Regions from separate parts of the Homo sapiens genome. Here region 2 is linked to region 1. Evidence: promoter capture Hi-C in 16 types of primary human blood cells and fetal thymus (Javierre and others, 2016). All regions are on one chromosome and are shown on one strand. The core of a region is centred on a gene start or on the middle of the fragment in contact, and the rest is flanking DNA. Distances in the headings are between cores, read along the strand shown.

Evidence for each region. Contacts are between HindIII fragments. The CHiCAGO score rates a contact against its expected background, and 5 or more counts as called.
Region 2: a contact is called between a fragment that was not itself captured here and the fragment with the promoter of C6orf147 in region 1, in 3 of 17 cell types (total B cells, naive CD8 T cells and naive B cells). The highest score is 10.2, in total B cells.

Annotation. Positions count from the first base shown.
Region 1 is chr6:73,308,318-73,311,835 of GRCh38, reverse strand. It overlaps C6orf147 (chromosome 6 open reading frame 147), which reads left to right and starts at 1,458. Exons shown (of 5, transcript NR_027005.4): 1 at 1,458-1,530; 2 at 2,108-2,284. LOC122539213 (KHDC1-KHDC1L) reads left to right here and starts at 1,677. Exons shown (of 7, transcript NR_173146.1): 1 at 1,677-2,284. It also overlaps a transcript of KHDC1 not described here. RefSeq lists enhancers at 1,310-1,569, 2,090-2,159. The HindIII fragment of the contact is 1,548 bases long and covers 771-2,318 here.
Region 2 is chr6:72,388,327-72,391,977 of GRCh38, reverse strand. It overlaps RIMS1 (regulating synaptic membrane exocytosis 1), which reads right to left. Exons shown (of 34, transcript NM_014989.7): 30 at 1,242-1,380. Among named protein-coding and RNA genes, the nearest start is that of KCNQ5, 230 kb to the left of the region's middle. RefSeq lists a silencer at 1,064-1,264. The HindIII fragment of the contact is 1,949 bases long and covers 819-2,767 here.

The sequences.
Region 1 (3,518 bases), core at 209-2,708:
ATAGCACTAAATACCCACAAGAGAAAGCAGGAAAGATCTAAAATTGACACCCTAACATCACAATTAAAAAAACTAGAGAAGCAAGAGCAAACACATTCAAAAGCTAGCAGAAGGCAATAAATAACTAAGATCAGAGCAGAACTGAAGGAGATAGAGACACAAAAACCCTTCAAAAAATCAATGAATCCAGGAGCTGCTTTTTTGAAAAGATCAACAAAATTGATAGCTAGCAAGACTAATAAAGAAGAAAAGAGAGAAGAATCAAATAGACGCAATAAAAAATGATAAAGGGGATATCACCACTGATCCCACAGAAATACAAACTACCATCAGAGAATATTATAAACACCTCTATGCAAATAAACTAGAAAATCGAGAAGAAATGGATAAATTCCTGGACACATACACCCTCCCAAGACTAAACCAGGAAAAAACTGAATCCCTGAATAGACCAATAACAGGCTCTGAAATTGAGCCAATAATTAATAGCCTACCAACCAAAAAAGTCCAGGACCAGAAGGATTCACAGCCGAATTCTACCAGAGGTACAAGGAAGAGCTGGTACTAGTCCTTCTGAAACTATTCCAATCAATAGAAAAAGAGGGAATCCTCCCTAACTCATTTTATGAGGCCAGCATCATCCTGATACCAAAGCCTGGCAGAGACACAACAAAAAAAGAGAATTTTAGACCAATATCCCTGATGAACATCGATGCAAAAATCCTCAATAAAATACTGGCAAACCAAATCCAGCAGCACATCAAAAAGCTTATCCACCATGATCAAGTGGGCTTCATCCCTGGGATGCAAGGCTGGTTCAACATATGCAAATCAATAAACATAATCCATCATATAAACAGAACCAAAGAAAAAAAACCACATGATTATCTCAATAGATGCAGAAAAGGCCTTTGACAAAATTCAACAGCGCTTCATGCTAAAAACACTCAATAAATTAGGTATTGATGGGACGTATCTAAAAATAATAACAGCTGTTTATGACAAACCCACAGCCAATATCGTACTGAATAGGCAAAAACTGGAAGCATTCCCTTAGAAAACTGGCACAAGACAGGGATGTCCTCTCTCACCACTGCTATTCAACATAGTGTTGGAAGTTCTGGCCAGGGCAATCAGGCAGGAGAAAGAAATAAAGAATATTCAATTAGGAAAAGAGGAAGTCAAATTGTCCGTTTGCAGATGACATGATTGTATATTTAGAAAACCTCATCTTCTCAGCCCGAAATCTCCTTAGGCTGATAAGCAACTTCAGCAAAGTCTCGGGATACAAAATCAGTGTGCAAAAATCACAAGCATTCTTACACACCCAGCCCCATTTTCGACGCCCTCTACTTGGCAGCCGGTGAGCCCCCGGCCCCTGCGTTTCTGGCTCCAGCCCCAGGTGGCGGCGCTGTAGGCTGGAGCCCCTGGAAAGCGCTGGCCTGGCAGCCCTGGGGAGTGTTCCAGGCCCTTGGACCGCAGGGAGGGCAACCAAATGGCAGAGGCGGTAACGGAGAGCATCCCTGAACGGTAAAAAGTCGTCTAAAGGATCGAAGAAACGGAGTGTGAGCGAGTCCGTGGGCGGGACAGCACCTTCGGGTGCCGGTCAGAGGAGCGAGCGGCGGAAGAGGCGGGTCCAGGGCGGTGTAATTAAGGCGCGGAGCCCAGACCCTCCTGCTACAGTGCCTCGGGCTTTCCTGGAGGCGGGCGGCGGGATGCTGCTCCGTTCTCCGGGTCCTCTCCTCCGGTTCTTGTCGTTTGGTCACGCCCTCAGTTCAGTCGGTTATTGGAAAACGATCAAGGCCCAAAGATGGTTTACGTGGCGTTGTGGATGTTATCACCGTTGTTTGGTGACCGAGCCTGGAGCTTGAGCCCTGGGACGTCTTGCCAGCCGCATGTGGTCCCGTGCCCACTTCTCGCGGTGGCGCGTTAATCCACCTAGACTGTGCATTGGTCCAGTCTGGGTTGACCCCGACCCGAAGTGGCCCTTTCCTTCGCGTCCTGAACTTCGCTTCTCCGTCGGTGTCTGGTCTCTTCCCGCCGGCGGGCTCTGCGGTGGCGGGAGGAGCTGTACTACTCGTGCCTTAGCGCACCCTTACTTTCCCAGGCCAGAAACGCGAAATGCTGTCGGCCTTCCAGAGGCTGTTCCGAGTCTTATTTGTGATTGAAACAGTCTCAGAATACGGAGTCCTGATCTTCATTTATGGATGGCCCTTTCTCCAGACCCTTGCGATGCTCCTGATCGGGACAGTGTCTTTCCACCTTTGGATCCGCAGAAATCGAGGTGAGTGGCTTTAGGGGCCCTGGTAGGAAAAGCTTCCTTCACCCAGGTGCCCGGAAAGGCGAGTTTCGCTTCCGGGATCTTTCAGGATCACTCCAGCTCCTTAGTCTGAAGGCCTAGGACAGTTCTGCAAATCACCATGTTAAAAAAAACCCTGGGTGTGCCTCCTGGTTTGTGAGTAGAAAGGGCAAGATGTGGTTGGGAAGGAAGATTGTGGCTAGAAGCAACCAAAGGTGGAAAATCTAGGACATTTGTGCACTGTAGGTTTAGAAGTCCCAGGAATCCCAGGCCAGCTCCTCTAGGGGGCCATCTTCCACTAAATCTCTTTTGCGGGTCTGCCCCGTCACTTAGATACCCTAGGAGAGCTGATCTCAAAGCGGAGTCCCGCGATCAGCAGAATCAGCATCACCTGAGAACTCCTTAAAAATGCAAACTGCCAGGCGCGTTGGCTCACGCCTGTAATCCCTGCACTTTGGGAGGCCAAGGCCCATCACTTGAGGTCAGGAGTTTCAGACCCGCCTGGCCAACATGGTGAAACCCATCTCTACTAAAAATACAAAAATTAGCCTGGCGCGCGTGCCTGTAATCCCAGGTACTAGGGAGGCGGAGGCAGGAGAATCGCTTGATCCTGGGAGAAGGAGGTTGGAGTGAGCCGAGATGGCGCCACTGCTCTCCAGGCTGGGCAACAGAGCGAGACTCCGTCTCAAGAAAAAACAAAAAAACAAAAAACAAACCAACAAAAAACAACAGCAAAAAACTCTACCGGGTGCGGTGGCTGACACCTGCAATCCCAGTACTTTGGGAGGCCGAGGTGGGAGGATCGCTTGAGCCCAGAAGTCACAGCCTGGGCAATATGGTGAAACCCCGTCTCTACAAAAAAATATGAAAAATTAGCTGGGCTATGTGGCACCCATCTGAAGTTCCAGCTACTCGGGAGGATCACCTGAGCCCGGGGAGGTCGAGGCTGCAGTGAGCCAAAATCGTGACACTGCACTCCAGCCTGGGCAATCGGAGTGAGACCCTGTCCAAAAAGAAAAAAAAAAAAGCCGGACGCGGTGGTTCACTCCTGTAATCCCAACACTTTGGGAGGCTGAGGCAGGTGGATCACCCGAGGTCAGGAGCTCAAGACCAGCCTGGTCAACATAGTGAAACCCCATCTCTACTAAAAATACAAAAATTGCAGCAGGGCGTGGTGGCTCACGCCTGTAATCCCAGCACTTCGGGAGGCCGAGGAGGG
Region 2 (3,651 bases), core at 544-3,043, 920 kb after region 1:
CTTTTAACCAAGGAAATTAAATGGGACACAGATTATAATCCCATCCAGAGACCATGAAAATAAATCCAAGAGATTAAATGGTTTATGATGGAGGCAAATTTTATTTGTTACTTTTTTATATCAGAAAATGATGTGTTCAAGTCTCATTTGTATATTACTTTATGCTACTTCATCAAATATGGGTATTTTGTCAGTAAGTTTATCTCTGTAACTTTCATACCTGCTGATTTTTGTTCTTATATTCCTTACTGGAAACATGCATAACAAGCCAATCATTTGACCAACTAAACAGAGACCAACTAGTTTCAGGAATGGGAAGGAATATCACAAACAGTAACTTGGCATAATTCTGTTAAATTTTCTAAACAATATAGAAAAATTCCAGTAAAGACAAGAAATTAGAAATATCAAATTGGTATATGAGTAATGTGAATGGTAATGAACAAATAATTATGGAAAATTTATATGTGGTGAATCTCCATGTAATCCAAAACAACACATTAATTACTTATTTGTAAGATCCACTACCTCAATAAAAATTCAATTTTACCAGAAATATTCTCAAGCATAGGAAGAAGCAGGTTTTGTGCAGGATCCATATGAAATGGTAAAAAAAAAAAAAAAAGAAAAAGAATCGAAAAGAGTAAATTTTTAAAAATCGTATTCTATTTTTTCAGAATTAACTAAAACATTTTAGTCAGAAAAATAATGAAGCTGATAGACCCTGGATTATTTCCTAAGGTAAAAATGAGTCAGCAATGTTTTAAAAACAAGAAAATGTAACTTACATATATGACAGTGTTAGACTTAGAAAAGCTTAGGGTCCAAAATAGCTTGGAGAAAATTAAGAAAATGGGAAATCAGTTCCTTACTTATAAATTTTAACTTGGACTTTGGTGACAGGGACAGACTATGAGTTTCCCATATGAAAGAGTCCATTACCTGTGGCATTTGTACACTAAACATCCAGTAAGGAACTAGTCTGGGCTTTCCTAGATGCAAGAAATCAATTTGTTCATGTGGACTCAGAATTTCTTCACCCTTTGAAAGGTATGAATGACCAGGTGTAGAGGTGTGTCCATGTGTACTTACTTATAAGCCATCAGGGTGGTTTAAAATGGATGGTTGAACTTCTGATTAAATAGAGAAGCTGCACAGTAACACTCAGTGGCTTTGTTATCTTACTGATTAGTACACAATTCCTGGTTCCACAGCCATGCAGACGTGCTGACAGCACTTACTTGCCCTCAGAGCTGTAACTGTTGATGCTGCCATCAGTAGACTCTCGGCTCGGCTGCCTTACCATCTTTCTCATTTCAGCTGCCATGCCTGTTTCTGTGCTTCTCTGGATGGTACTTTTTAACTTTTTGTGGCCCGACTCTGACAGGAGAGAGTAAAAGAAACTCTAAGTTTTATTTAGACAGTTTACTCCTGAATATCAATTGATCCTGCAAATACAATAGTTAATTTTACACATAATTACAAATTTAATCAGAAAAATAGTAACCTAAGGGAGTACTTTGCTTGATTCAGGCTCCTTGCCAAAGTATGCTTGGCTAAGGGGAGTACCACTGGATGCTATGCCATGGCCACAGTTTCAGTGACTGCCTAAATCTCAATCAGCCAAAATGAAATCATTGTATTATTGATGGTGACAACTTCAATGAAAATCTGAATTTGGCACCCAACTGTTCTGTGGAAAGATAATGGTGAACAATCTAATAGGTTTCTCCTAATACGGAATTCACTAAATGTGTATGAATAGTCCCAAAGGACAGGTCGTGTTCTTTTAAGGAGAAGGTGCATTTGGAACCCAGTTTGAAAAATACCACAGTTTTACTGTCACGTATCAGCAATCCTCATGAAGAGAAACTAGTATTTTAATTGATGATTTTTGCAGCACTTTAACATACACTATATAATATTTATACTTATTTCTACTCCATATAGATTATGGAGTTAGGTGTAACAGGTTTTATCTTAATTCAAAGACTACACAGCTACCTCATGGCCTTTTGACTCAGCTGCATGAGTTCTGACTGGCAGTTTGGGGTGTACACCTCCATTTGTACTGGGAATTACATACATTTGCATTTCAGTTCTTGATAAGCTCAGAGGAATTTTCTTGAGCCACTTTGAAATGCACTAACCAGCATTCTATTCATAGCATGGAAATAAATTCTAAAATATTTACTTGCTTACATGTATAAGCAGTATCAATAGGTTAGGAAAACTGTTAGACTTTATTCCATCTATACGTCCTATATAAATTTCTGGTTTTCGCTTTAGTTTCTGTATAGTATCATATAATACCCATTAATAATATATGAAAAATGCTCTATATACATAATTACATACATAACTACTATATAAACACATTAACTTTTCAATCCACATAAAACCTTTACAAAGCAGGTACCTAAATACACTCTTAGATAAGCCATTTGAAACACTGCATTTTTTCCCTCTCATTTTTGGTCACTGGATTCCTTTTGTAAATTGTCTAATCAAAGATATAATAGGTTATGCTATATGAACTTAATGCTGATCCTTCCTACACATTTAGTATGTTCATTAAAATTTTTATTTTTTATTGTTCTTAACCTTTTTATTGCTATTTTTGCTTACAAAGACAATATATGTATATTACAAAATATTTAAATGTTACAGAAATTGCCAACATTGAATGCCCCCTATAATTTCACCACTCAAGGAAGACAATGGTTAGTAATTTGGGAACTATTTTTTCTTTATACCTATACAAGCTTCTTCACTTGGCTACTGTGATCCACATTCTCCGTTTTTCCTTCTTTGACATTGGTTGTTACTTCCCAGTCTCTTCTGCTGGATTTTTCCTCTTTGAGATTTTTAGAAATAGACAATCCCTAGACCTCAGGCCTCAGACCTTTTGCTTTCTTCTACACTTACTTCCTAGGTGATCTCTAACATAGCTTTAACATAGCTAACAAAGCCACCTATGCCCTTGTGCCTCCCAAATATACATCAAGGTCTTAACCTTTCCCATAAATGCTGAAGTCATTAATCCAATTGCCTAGTAGCTCCATTTACAGATCTGATAGGCACTTCAACATTAACATATCCAAGACAGAACTCTTCCCCACCTCCACCACACTACCACCTCCCACTACTAAATCCTCCTCCCACAGTAAATGGTACTACAATTCACTTGGGTGATAAGGCCTAAATCCTTGTAATCATCTTTGATTCCTCTAACACACCCCACACCCAATCCATCAGCGAATCCTCTTGGCTTTGCCTTCAAAATGCATCACAAGTCTGGTCATTCTTCTTCCTCTCCACAGCTCCAACCCTATGTCCAGACACTATCATCACTCAAAAGAGCAGTGCCATACCCGTACAGCTAGTGTCACTGCTTCTATTCCTTTCCTCCTCAGAATATTCTTGACATAACAGCCATGGTGAGTCTTTAAAAATGTAAATCTGAATATATCATTCCCCTGCTCAAGATCTTATAATGATTAATCACCAAAGTAAAATGAAAATCCAAAATTGTTATCGTGGCCCAGGAAATGCCATATCATCTGGTCCTTGGACACCTCACATCTCATCTTCTGCCCCTCATTCCATATGATCAATGCTCTCCAGTCACACTGTCTTCCCTGCATTTCC